Linked DNA regions of Homo sapiens: region 1 is linked to region 2. Evidence: promoter capture Hi-C in 16 types of primary human blood cells and fetal thymus (Javierre and others, 2016). All regions are on one chromosome and are shown on one strand. The core of a region is centred on a gene start or on the middle of the fragment in contact, and the rest is flanking DNA. Distances in the headings are between cores, read along the strand shown.

Region 1 (7,280 bases), core at 1,574-4,073, 95 kb after region 2:
ATGAGCCCAAAAAGTGGTGTTTTGAGATGGAGTTTACCCTTAATGAAGATACTGTGGACGTTATTGAAATGACAACAAAGGATTTAGAAGAGTATATGGACTTAGTTGGTAAAGCAGTGGCAGTGTTTGAGAGGATTGACTCCACATTTTTTAACGAAGTCCTACTGTGGGTAAAGTGCTATCAAATTGCATCGCATGCTACAGAGAAATCGTTCATGAAAGGAAGAGTCAACCTATGCAGCAGACTTTATTGGTTTTTTTGCTTGTTTGTTTGTTTTGGGATGGAGTCTCTCTCTGTCGCCAGGCTGGCGTGCAGTGGCGTGATCTCGGCTCACTGCAACCTCTGTCTCTCGGGTTTAAGCGATTCTCCTGCCTCAGCCTCCCAAGTAGCTGGGACTACAGGTGTGCACCAACACGCCAGCTAATTTTTGTATTTTTAGTAGAGATGGGATTTCACCATGTTGGCCAGGATGGTATCGATCGCTTGACCTCAATATCCACCTGCCTCGGCCTTCCAAAATGCTGGGATTACAGGTGTGAGCCACCGGTTTATTGTTTTAATTTTGACAGCCACCCCAGCCTTCAGCAGCCACCACCCTGGCCAATCAGAAGCTGTCAACTTGGAGGTAAGACCCCCTACCAGCAAAAATATTACATCTCCCTGAAGGTTCAAATGATCATTAGCATTTTTTATCAATAAATAATTTTTAATTTAAGGTAGGTATGTACATTGTGTTTTAGACATAATGCTGTTGTACACTTCATAGAGTATAGCATAAACATAACATTTATATGCAGTGAGAAACCGAAAAATTTTTGCTACCGGCTTTATTGCAATACTCGCTTCATTGTTTAGAACCAAACCTGCAATATCTTCGAGGTATTTCTGTAAGTTATTTATGGTTTTTGTGTATCAGGTTTGATTCTGACTCTCTTCCCTTCTATCAACATGTTAATTCTCAAATTGCAAGGGTTTTTTTCTGTAGTATTGAACGTTACATTTTATTAAGGTAGAGAGATTTGGTTATGAGGTGATATTTCTAAAACCGAGTGGAAACCACATTTGTTGAATAATGCTCCCTCCAAAAGTTTCATCTCTTTCTGCATATGTGTAGTAACCTCTCAGAGCACTGTACCAGACACTGCTGGTATCTATAGCAATTACACCTCTGTAAAACAATCAAAAAAGAATTGTTAAGAAAGAGAAAGCAAGAGAGAGGATATATTCTATTTGTTATCCTAACCTTTAGTCACTTTACTTTCTCTTGAATACGAGTACTTTTTAGAATTACAATGAATTTTTAAATCTCTTTAGCTGGGATTTCATAGTGAACCTCAAGCGTTACCCTTTTGGGGTTTAAAAAAGAAATTAAAAAGGGTTTCCAGAATATACTCTTCCTCACATTGATTTAAGATTCTTTGAGGCTTGATTATTTAAAAGTCTAATGCATTCGGTGTTTAATTTTAAATCGAATGAATTAAATTAGCACTTAAATACTATTTAATATTTTAATTAAGTTAAAATATAGATGATGCTTACTTTATAAAATAAGTTTGCTGTTTTGTGATAAAATTAAGATTACAAGAAATTATACATCTGCACATGTTTTTGTCATAATTCGAATCCATGGATCTCTCTTTACAGTGTTAAGTGACGAATTTGTCAGGTTGCATAAGAAAGAAGTGGGAGAAAGAATCACAGTAAATTTAATCCTTCCATTGCAGTCTTACTTTTTCCCTACTCTTGCACCCTAAAGATCCTAGAGGCATTTTGGGAAACTACTGATACGGATATCATTTCATTACGTAAACTATTTTATTGCATAGCTTGAATATAGACCTACTAGACATCAAACAAGCAAAATAAGTGTTGTCTCTTTGGGATTTAGCTTGAGGTTTCAGGGAAGCAGCATATCACTTTTCAGTAATTTTTTACCATTATTCATTTTTACTTGGAATAAATAAATCATTTATCTCATCTTCCTGTTGATAGTGAAAGATAACAGGATAATCATAGCAGTGATAATCTGATGTCATTTTAGACCTAGCAAGAGTAGATTATCTGTGACCCAGATAAAATAATTAGAAATTACTTTAACTTAAAAATAGTGGATTCTAATCTCATTTTCAAGGTTAAAAGATTTCAACACAACCAGATGTTTCTGTTAAATAGACTAATCTGAAGCCCAATTCAAAAGGATTACCTGTGATTATTTTTCGATTTAATTTTAAACAGGATTTAAATATACGTTTTTGTGCGTTTTTACTACAATTTATATTGGAATAAAAATGTTTTCAAATCAGTCTACTTCGAGGCATTTTTTATTAAGGGAAACAGGTTAGTCAAATTATTTTTTAGACTTCAGACTGTTTAGCCTGTTTTTTGGTTTTTTTTTGCTGTTTCTGAATCAAATGGATAGTGATGTTATTTAATGTAATTGATGTTGTCTGAATTATTGAGCAGTAGTTCACACATAGCCAACAATAATGTCCATTCTGATGAGCACCAATACTAATAGTGCTGGGTGATTGTATTTGTCATGTTCTCAGTCACTGGGCTTGGAGAGAGTTAATCAAGAAGTGCTGTAACAGCTGGTACAGCGCATTCTGGTGAGGTTCTGACAGTGAGCTATTGTGTACCATGACACTGCTCTGACAGTTTATCTAATTTTTATATACAAGCATTTTTGTTTTCTGGGCTCTGTGGAGTTTATATAATAGTGTAAGCTTTTGATGATGTCTCTGGAGATTTTCTCAGTTGTGGTGAGGTTGGGGGTAGGGTGAGACAGATGTATTTAGTTGCAATTTTGTAAAAGACTAAATTCTCAAACAAAAAAATAGTGATTTTTGCATTTGGTTTCACAGGTGCTATTGTTGGATTCTATTTGAATTGCTGAAGATAGCTTAAATCAAAGCTTTTCAAATTAAGAAGAAAATGTTTTCCCCCCTAAATACTGGCTCATATTTAACTCAGCAAGTTAATGTTTACTTAAATAAATACAGGAGAAATCATAAATGCAGGGGTGACAGTTTTAACTTGGCTACCTTACTCACTGAAAAGTATCTTGTGTTCCAAGTGTGAAATCAGTTTAAAGGAGACTGTCTAGTAAACAGCATTTTACGAATCAGTCGATTTACTTGCCTTTTAATCTATACACAGAAGTGTAGTCCTCAAATGATTAATTCCTATAGTTAAATTTTGCCTAGTATTCTGCCAAATTATTTTGAATTAATAGCATTCAGTACACTCTTTATAACAATTATGTTTGATGTACTCAGCTCCAGGTCAGCATTGCAGACATGAACATCATTGCTAATTATGCTGACCCCAGCTCACATATACTTCTATAAAGGGAGCTCTGTAAGGCATTTTTGTCTTCCTCTGAATTTTTGCTTGATAAAAATAAAATAAATGTATTTCTAATGTAGTATTCCCAATTGTAATATTATATGAAAGATTTTATAGCTTTTTTAAAACCTAGAAAGTTAATTAAAATTTAAAGTGTCCCTTCTTTTTAAATATGCTTTTAATGTCATATAGTAAAATTGGGTATAATATTTTTTAGAATTTTGTATATGATAAGTTTATAAAAAACTAGGTTCCCCCTTGCCAAGGGCATTTGCTTAAATACCAAGTTATATTTCATATTTACATGAAATACTCTTTTAAAAAAATTATCAAAATTATTTTGATAATTATGGTGTGTGGAATTGGGCTACTCTTTAGCATATGCATGTTCCTATGTAAAAGCATATTTATATTGCATAATTTCTGTTTGCTCAGTGTAATAAACTGCTTGTAAGTATTTTTGATAAAACTAATTAAAAAGAAATCTTTTTCTATAATTTATTTATATGTCCTTAAATCACTACTGATTGCTTGAGTGATTAAATAGATGCTTAAAAAGTGTTCGTAAGGAAACTAAACATTTATGGGTTTTCCTTTTACTAACAATTTTTCCTAGATATTCATTTTATTATTTCATGATCTGAATCCACACAAATATTTAATCTGACATTAAAACATAGGACTGCAGAAAGCAGTAAATCTTATATTTATGGTTTGCTTATGGTATTTTGGCACAATAATTTATGTACATTTTATTGATATATTATTATTCCCTGAATCTCAGCCAAAGGGGCATGTTAAATGCCCATCTTATTTCTACTAATAACCAAAAATCTTATCAAAGTATAATTTTGGTGTTAAAAGTGTAAGAGTAGTTAAATTTGAGTTTTGATTATAAACAGTTTTTCAGCTGTTCCAAATATTCTGATTAGTGCGAGACTTATTTCTACAAAACATTATTGTATATAATCATCCTTGCTGGCTTCCTCTCTATGTTACTATATAATTATTTCCTGTATACTTGACTACTTTTACTAGATTGTAAGTTCCATGATGCTAAGGACTGTGTCATAATAGATACTTGGTAAATTTTTGATAGATGGATAAATGAATGAATGAATCATGGTTTACATATTTAGGACTTGTTTTTTCAACTGGATTATAAGCTCTTAGAGGGCATAGGATTTTATATGTGTAGTCTCTTGTAGTCCCTATTATTTTATTTTTCATTATAAAACCACTTGTTTGTTTGTTTAAACATAATGTTGAAAAGTTACATTTTGAGGTAATTGAGGTATTTCTTTCCAAGCCCTCTCAAAAAGTAGGTAGTAGGCAGTATCACTAAAATCTTAAGACTGCCATTTATTGAGGAGTTATAAGGGGTTTTGACATAATTAACTCATTTAATCCCCACAAAAACCTATGAGGTAAGCGTTATTATTTGGAAATGGAGGTATAGAGTTTTAGCAATTTTCTTTAGATTATACAGTCAGAAAGTGGCATTTAAGATTAAGAGAAGTGTGAGGATTATTTTGGAAAGAGATTTTCAGTGTCTATAAATATAAGATCTGTTGCCTTCTCACTTTTGTTCTATGATTGATTCGATGTTTATGTGAACTTCAGATCCCTGATAAAAGACATAGCTGGTCTTTTGTTGGAAATGGGTGCTTAAAGAACCATTCATTTCAAATGAGGAAAGTAGAAGGAAGACAGAGCTAAGATTAACAGGACATTTCCCTCTTTTGATTGAAAACAAAACTAAAAATAAGGAATCATGCTATTTCTGTTCATGTCCAATTAGTTTAGTGCTGCAAATTTATATTAAGTTGACCATTTTGTACAGTATGTGCTGCTAAGTGCTATGGAAAAATTTAAAGTTAAATGAGCTACTGTTCATATACTAATCAGAGGTGCTAAGAAGTGAAATGAAAGTCTTTCTTAGAATTAATATAAATTAGTAATAGATAAAGCAGGCAAAGTTTTTCTCTAATTGTGAAAAACTTGCCTGAGTAGTGTTTTTAATTTTTAAATTTTTGATTGATATATAATAATTGTACATAGTTATGGGGTACAATGTGATGCTTCAATATTTGTATACATAATGTAATGATCAAATCAGTAATTAACTTATCCATCACCTCAAACGTTTTTCATTTATTTGTGGTGAGAACATCCGAAATCCTCTCTTCAGGCTATTCTGAGATGTACAGTACTTTGTTGACTGTAATCACACTGCTGTGCAATAGAACACCACAATTTATTACTCCTTTCTAATTGTAACTTTGTACCCATCGACCATCCTCTTCCCCATCCTTCACTTCTTTCTACCCTCCCCAGTCTCTGCTAACTACTGTTCTATTCATACTTCTGTGAGATCACCTTTTTTAAGATTCTGCATATGAGTGAGAACAGTCAGTATTTGTCTTTCTTTAACTGGCTTATTTCATTTATGCATGTGATCACAAATGATCGTACTTCATTCTTTTTTTGGCCGATTAGTATTCCATTGTGTATATATACCATATTTACTTTATTCATCTGCTGTTAGACACAGGTTGATTCCATATCTTGGCTATTATGAAGAGTGCTGCAATAAACATGGGACTCTGACATACTGATTTTATTCCTTTGAATATACAGTTGTCCCTCACTCTCCATGGGGGATTGATTTCTGGACCCCACAGGGATATCGGAATCCATTGAGGCTCCTGTTCCTTATGTAAAATGGTGTAGTATTTGAATATAACTTATGGACATCTTCCCTTGTACTATAATTCATCTTCTAGATTATTTATAATACCCGATACAACGTAAATACTATGTAAATAGTTGTTAAACTATATTATTTTAATTCATATTATTATTTATTTTTTTAAATAGTTTTTCTTAAAGTATTTTCGATCCATGGTTGATTGAATCACAGCTACAGAACCCACAAATATGGAGGGCTGACAGTGTACCCAGTGCTGTGATTGCTGGATCATATAGTAGTTTTGTTTTTAACTTTTTGAGGTGCCTCCATACTGTTTTTTATAATGACTGCATGGATTTACACTTTCCCCAACAAGAGTAAAGGTTCTTCCCCAGACTGTGTAAGGGTTCCCTTTTCTCCACATCCTTGCCAACATTTACCTTTTGTATTTTTGATAATACCCTGGGATAATTCTGATTGGGATGACATGATTTCCCATTGTGGTTTTTGATTTACGTTTCTCTGATGGCTAGTGGTGTTGAACATTTCTTCATATACCTGTTGGTCATTTCTATAATCTTTTCTCTGTTTTAGAATCAGATTTTTTTTGTTTTCTCTCTCTTTTTTTTTTTTTTTCTGTTGAGTTGTTTGTGTTCCTTATGTATTCTGGGTATTAACCCCTTGTCAGATGTATAGTTGCAGAGATTTTCTTCCATTCTTTAGGTTGTTTCTTCAATGTATTTTTTTTTTTAAGAGACAGGATTTCATTCTATCACCTAAGCTGGAGTGCAGTGGCATGATCATAACTCACTGCAGCCTTGAACTTCTGGGCTCAAGCAAACCTCCCACCTAAGTCCCCCAAGTAGCGAGGACTACAGGCACATGCCACCATGCCATGCCTGCTAATTTTTTAAAGGTTTTGTTTTGTTTTTGTAGAGACAGGCTCTCACTATATTGGCTGCACTGGTCTTGAACTCCTGGCCTCAAGCAATCCACCTGCCTTGGCCTCCCAAAGTCCTGTAATTACTGGCGTGAGCCACCGCACCCAGCCATTCACTATGTTGTTTCCTTTGCTATGCAGAGCTTTTTTGTTTGATGTAATCTCATTTGTCTGTTTTTTTTTTTGTTGTTGCCTTTTTTTTTTATGTCTTACCTAAAAAATCCTTATCCAGGCAATGTCCTAAAGCATTTCCTCTATGTTTTCTTCCAGTAGTTTCATAGGATCAGGTCTTAACATTG
Region 2 (6,810 bases), core at 3,880-6,379:
CAGAAGGAAAAACAGACAAGGTAAATTTTAAAGATGAGGAAGAAGGAGCAGGACAGAGATGTTGCATCAGTGACTGCATCCTGAACTGGCTCTAAGTATAGGCACAGGCATTGGAGATGGATGGACAGGTAGGAAGGTGGGGCACATGGTGAGGGACAGCTCAGGCTGCCTTGGCCTAATTCTCAGATTTGCAGGAGCCCTCTCTGCAGTCTTGGTAGGGAGATGATTAGACACATGTAGATATTGTCCATGACTTGTGCACAGTAGTAGATACATCTTCAGATGCAAAAAACAAAATACCCAGAATACAGAAAACTATTTCTCAATGGTGTTGGAGGGTGTTTTGAACAGAGGGCAGTGAGATCACCGAAACTACAAACAGAATAATCTAATCTTTAAAAGACAATCTAACCATCAGTGCCTTGAAGTGGAAATGGGGATTTTTTTGTTGGCAGTTACACCATTTGATATTTGTCCTTTTCCACTGGTCACACATTTTGGTATCTTTGGGTGACAGTTTTAAAAGATTGAATAAAGAAACTGATAATAATGGTTCTCTCCATGGCAAGGACAGGCAGCCTGGGGTGGAGTCAGAGGAAGATCAACCTTTCGTTGTGCATTTTTTTGTGTGTTATTTGAATTTTGTTACTATGCGTATTTATTACCTACTCAAAAATAAAAGAAATGTACTGCACCATGTCTACAGTGCTTCCTTGAATTCAACAAATATTTATTATTGAATAAAATTAGCACAAATAAAGCATACAGTTCACTGCATCTTTGGGATTTGGCTCTACTTGAAAGTCCCTGATTAGTACAGGAATGATGCCTGCCTAAATTTTGTTTCTTTCTTTCTTTCTTTTTTTTTTTTTGAGATGAAGTCTCCCTTTGTCGCCCAGGCTAGAGTGCAGTGGCATGATCTTGGCTCACTGCAACCTCCACTTCCCAAGTTCAAGCAATTCTCCTGCCTCAGGCTCCAAAGCAGCTGGGATTACAGGCACCAGCCACCATGCCCAGCTAATTTTTGTATTTTTAGTGGAGACAGGATTTCACCATGTTAGCCAGGCTGGTCTCGAACTCTGGACCTCAGGTGATCTGCCCACCTTCGCCTCCCAAAGTGCTGGGATTACAGGCATGAGCCACCATGCCTGGCCTAAATTTTCCCTGTAAAACTTATTTTGAATATACTAGGCTGTCCCTATAGATTGCAAAATCCACTAGACCTGAAACTGAACAAAGACACTCTCAACACTTATCTCCAGTTCCTAGAACAGAGCTGGCACTCAGGTGTGCGCTGTAAGAATGAAAGAATTAGTCCAGTTAAAGGAGCAGCTTCAGGGAATGGGGCTCTTCCTCACGTGTCTTTTCCATGGAAAGGGGAGGAGGGAGTGTACATTTTGAATAATTAAGTAAATTGTTTATTTAAAAGTTTAAGGGGAAATCATATATCCTAATTTTCCCTTTTCCTTGTTCCTTGGAAAATAAGAAAAAAGGTCCTGTTTTCTTCTGAGTTAAAAAAAAAATAATCTAACCTGCCATGACATGATTGCTATTCTGTATTTTGAAAAGAGAGGTAGTGATGAGGCAGTGGCATGCTCCCCAGTCAGATTTCTCTCCTGAATCCTTCAACCCAAATGTCCTTTTCCAGCTCTCAGTTGTCCTGTTTAACTGTAATGTCCACCCCCCACCTCAACACTGCCTCTCACCTTTTGTTGATTTAAGATAGGTTTTTAGGGAAGAACTTAGTCTCTCTGTTCGCCCTTGGAGAGCACTGGGCTTCTTTTTAACTGTCTTCTGAGAGTCTGTAAGAGGGACAGAAAATGTAGCTGTTGCTGTCCTCTCATAGGCACACTGGGGAGGTCTGAAAAGGAGACAAACCACCTCAACGTGTCTTGAGCGGCTGGGTCTCATGGGCCTCTTTTCTTGTCCATTTTATAAAAGTGTCACCAGCATATGAAAACATTTTTTATTTAAGTATCTTCTCGAGGTCTTTAGAGTTCCTGAAGACATCTTAGTGCCTAAGAAACCCAAGTCAAGTTGAAAACAGTCAGATTCTGCTGAAAGCCTGAACTGTAAATGGAAATGAATGGATTCTGGGATTGGCCCCTCTGGTTCTCATGCATGTCTAGGGTTGGCCCAGGAAGTGGACTTAGGAGGCTTGGGCTCACTCACATGAACTCAGGCTCACCCTTCACTGTGGCATTTGGTACTAAGTGCACTAATAATTGGCGATGCTGTCTCCTCATGAAAGCTTCCTACTGGGTCTGGAGACCTCCTGCAGACCTACTTCCATTTCCATTTGGTTCATCCAAATTGGGAGGTAACTAGATGCCTGTATCAACTGAAGACCAACAGAGGCAGCATATTTTTGCTGAAAGCTACAAAATCTTCACTTATTTTCTTAAGAGATTATAATGTATTACATTATACATATATTACATGTTATACATACATAATTATACACACATAATTATACACACACAGTGTATCAATGGCTTTAGAATTGGTGAATGGACACGATAGTGAAAGGTGATAGTCATTGCCTTTAGCTGAAAAAGGCAGAGGTTGGAGATAGGCTTGTTTCATAGTTCTCATCACAGAAGGCTTGGCTTTGCTAGATTTACTTTTCACGGATAGTATTTACTAATGGGAGTAGGGAGAATATTTCAAGATATTTGCACATTTTCTCAAAAGAAGTGACAGAACAGCAAAAGGATATTCTCTGTGAGTGATTTTTAAATGGCACTTATAAGCCCCAAATTAGGATCAGAGGAAGGGAAGTTTAGGACTAAAGGAAAGTGAAAAATGGATAACTGACATCCCTATAGATGATTTTATACAATAAAGTTAGATGATGCATAAGAAATCCCACTAGACTATCTAACCTACTTGAGGGCAGGGACAAAGTTTTACTCATTTTTCAATTATCTACCAGTATCTAATATGATTCTTAACACACAAAGTGAGTCTTCTACACATTGCAGTTCAACAGGAATTATCTCAACTGTATCTCATGTTCAGTAATTCCAGAGCCAAGCAAACTGAGACCCGAGATAGAATTTCTGAGATTGTCTTTAGTTTTGGGAAATAGTAGATACTCTGATTGATAACAATGGAATTTCAGTTACTGAAAAGTAACAGTTAAAAGGATTCAGGAAAGGTATCACAGCTGGCTTCCACACCATATTATACCAGGAGGCCTAGTGACTAGCTCTGGAAAGCGTATAGCATTGGATGGCTGAGGGGAATTAAGAAATTCAAGTAGCAGTCAATTAAAAAAAAAAAGATGTTGACATAGCATGGTGGCTCACGCCTGTAATCCCAGCACTTTGGGAGGCAGAGGCAAGATGGTGGCTCAAGGCTAAGAGTTTCAGAGCAGCTTGGGCAACAGAGTGAGGCTCTGTTTCAACAACAACACAAAATTTTAAATAGCCAGGTGTGGTAGTGTGCCTGTAGTCCCAGCTACTCAGGAGGCTTGCTTGAGCCTAGGAGTTTGAGGTTACAGAGTGCTATGATTGCACCACTGCACTCCAGACTGGGCAACAGAGCAGAACCCTTTTCCTAAAATAAAAAAAAACAATGGCAAATACACATGCTTATTTATTATATATCAACAGCACCTTTCATTAATACTAGCACACGTTCCATAGATATTTGGTACAAGTACAATATATCTCCACTCATGGCATTCTGGTAAAGTGATGGTCCATGTTAAAAATAGCTCATTATCATGGGTAAAGGGACTTACTTAAGGCTTTATTTCATAGAAATCAGGCATGGCTATCAAGAAGAACAGAAATGCCTGGAAAACAGACTCCAGTGGGTCACTTCTTGGAAAGAAAGTTTAATCAGTATTGACAAAAAAGGGGGAACATGTTCCAGGACTATTTGTGTTATTGAAAGCAAGGAATATAGTGATTGAATTAAAAGGGGAGAAATAAAAGCAGATATTGCATTGCTTCCCAGTGGAAATACTGTTTGAATCATGTGGTAGGCTGATCGGACTCTATTCTGGGGTTTCAGTTTTCTGGACGTGTTTCTTTTTCGTATCCTAGGCTGATTCATGATAGTTTTGAATGATAGTTATTTTTCAATTTTTCCTTTGATCCCCGAAGACTCTTATTTGTGTCAATCTTTATTTAGCCTGGCCATCAATTAGTGTAAAACAAGGGGAGATGATGTGGATTCAATAAGGTAAGAAACTGACTAGCCAGCGTCACACACAAAGTTATCAAACCTGGTTCTTAGAATCCACGTTCTCATGTCTGGCTCTTTGTTCAAAGGGAAAAAAAAATCAATAGGATGGCTGGAGGGAGACATTTCCCTATCCTCATTGAAGACTGATGAGCTGTCAGTCTATTACGTGGTATCCTGTTGAGGAACATGTGAACAATTGGAAGAGTTTATCTGATGACTGACCAGTTGTGAAATTTAGCACCCATTAATTGATTCTTAATGTGAGAGGATTAACTTGGGAATTGTGAGTTTCTACGTGTGGAAAGGAAAACATATTCCCTTTACTCAGTTACTGTGCAAAAATCAATAACCCCAATTTGCATGTAAGTAAGAAACAATATGTCCCTTGCTCAAAAAAATTAACATCCTTCTAGCTCTTCCTTTCTTCTCCTTACAACTTTGATATACTTCTTCGTGTGTGTGTGTGTGTGTGTGTGTGTGTGTGTGTGTGTGTGTGTGTGAATAGCCTTCCTAAAGGCCTGGGCTTTTTCTAAATGTATGCCTTTAATTTTTATCCAAAAACTTCTCTTACAGCAACATGTCTTGTCTATTCTATTCCAGCACAAGGCAGATGCACAGCAAATGTGAGCTGACTCTAGTCCTTCTTCTGAAAACAGCCATGGGAAATTTAGGCAAAGAATGTGTTGTCTTTGCTAATACTGCTCTTTAAGCCCCAGACATAGCTAAACTCTTAGCTAATTACCCCCTGGGTCCCAGGCTTTCACTGGGGCCTTTTAAAATACACAAAACCAAAGTGACGGCAGGAGGCCATTAGCACTACATAATTCAAGCAAACAATAAATGTGTTTATTCTGCCTGGCTACTGACCACCTGCCTTCCCATCCCGCCAGGCAGGTATCTATATATACGATTTCCTTTTTCCCAGTCCTGCAGAGAATGAGCCTCTCCTTTGGGCCTCATCATTTACAAAAGAAGCTTGGGCCCCTGACAGCATGCATCTCCTCTTATTTCAGCTGCTGGTACTCCTGCCTCTAGGAAAGACCACACGGCACCAGGATGGCCGCCAGAATCAGAGTTCTCTTTCCCCCGTACTCCTGCCAAGGAATCAAAGAGAGCTTCCCACAGGCAACCATGAGGAAGCTGAGGAGAAGCCAGATCTGTTTGTCGCAGTGCCACACCTTGTAGCCACCAGCCCTGCAGGGGAAGGCCAGAGGCAGAGAGAGAAGATGCTGTCCAGATTTGGCAGGTTCTGGAAGAAGCCTGAGAGAGAAATGCATCCATCCAGGGACTCAGATAGTGAGCCCTTCCCACCTGGGACCCAGTCCCTCATCCAGCCGATAGATGGAATGAAAATGGAGAAATCTCCTCTTCGGGAAGAAGCCAAGAAATTCTGGCACCACTTCATGTTCAGAAAAACTCCGGCTTCTCAGGGGGTCATCTTGCCCATCAAAAGCCATGAAGTACATTGGGAGACCTGCAGGACAGTGCCCTTCAGCCAGGTATGTGTTCTGGGGGGAGAGCAGGTAAGAGTTTGCAGGTGGTAGTGGACAGCTGGGATGGATGGAGAGTAGGGGAAAAGGCTGTCAGGAGCCTGACTCTAGCTTAACTACAGATTTGGTCCTTGGGCATTCATCATAGGATTTGGCAAAGATTAAGTTTCCTTCTGGCCTTTCCATTTTTTCTTGGCATTGTGGAAATGCTGCAAGAATGATATGATGATACTGTCAATATCAGTAATCATTCATTCACACTGAAGACACAGAGCTCTGTTTTATTTATTTATTTTTGCATTGGAGGTGATCTACTCAGAGATATAAGTCAGACTGTACCCTCAGTTAGGAAACTGAGAATTTAGAGTAATCACCAGAACTCCTCTGTAGCTATCTTTCTGCACTCTATTAATATGTGGATGAGCAGGTCAACTCCATTTGTTGATAAAGTGGGGTGCATTGGACTCCTTCCCAAATACTCTCATATCCATTTACGATGGTCTTAATCCCCATAGTCCATACTTAATTACTTTATAGGTTTATGAGGGACTTCTTTAATAGCTTGCTAAAGCTATCCCACAACCTCAAAGTACGTTGAGGTTCTCAGGCAAAAGTTGTCATATCATTTCTAGTATTATGATAGCAAAAAAGTGATTTTCTTTCACTTATTTTCTCATATGAGCTTTTTAAAAAATCAATCTTGATGTGAGATCATATCTCCTCCCCTTAGAAGTACCTTTCTCCTGATTCATGTTGTGTTGGCTGATTTGTAGTTATTATGATCAATTCCATGCTATTAAGACAAAGGGACATCCTACTGTCTACTTCCTCTGGCAATATCTACATTCCAAATGTTAAATTAAAATTGAGAACTTGCATTAGGTCCTTAAACATGAAGATATTGAACCAAAAACATGCAGGGTAGAGTAAAATTTTATAGTCGAGTAATGCTACCCAATTAAGCAAGCAATAGAATAGGGCAATTGACTGTTCAAGGCAGTTAAGTATTCTGCCTGAAAAGGCAAGGATATGTAGCAATGGCAAGTCAATTATCAAATAATAATGACTACTCTGTTGGCCATGTGCAATTAGAAAATTACCCCTAAGAATCAGGCAATCAAAT

The links. Contacts are between HindIII fragments. The CHiCAGO score rates a contact against its expected background, and 5 or more counts as called.
Region 1: a contact is called between a fragment that was not itself captured here and the fragment with the promoter of CER1 in region 2, in 1 of 17 cell types (total B cells). The highest score is 5.1, in total B cells.

What each region holds. Positions count from the first base shown.
Region 1 is chr9:14,623,043-14,630,322 of GRCh38, reverse strand. All of the region lies in intron 8 of ZDHHC21 (zDHHC palmitoyltransferase 21), which reads left to right. Among named protein-coding and RNA genes, the nearest start is that of ZDHHC21, 67 kb to the left of the region's middle. The HindIII fragment of the contact is 188 bases long and covers 2,730-2,917 here.
Region 2 is chr9:14,721,052-14,727,861 of GRCh38, reverse strand. CER1 (cerberus 1, DAN family BMP antagonist) reads left to right here and starts at 5,129. Exons shown (of 2, transcript NM_005454.3): 1 at 5,129-5,696. The coding sequence starts at 5,190. RefSeq lists enhancers at 4,104-5,041, 5,042-5,981. The HindIII fragment of the contact is 2,921 bases long and covers 2,254-5,174 here.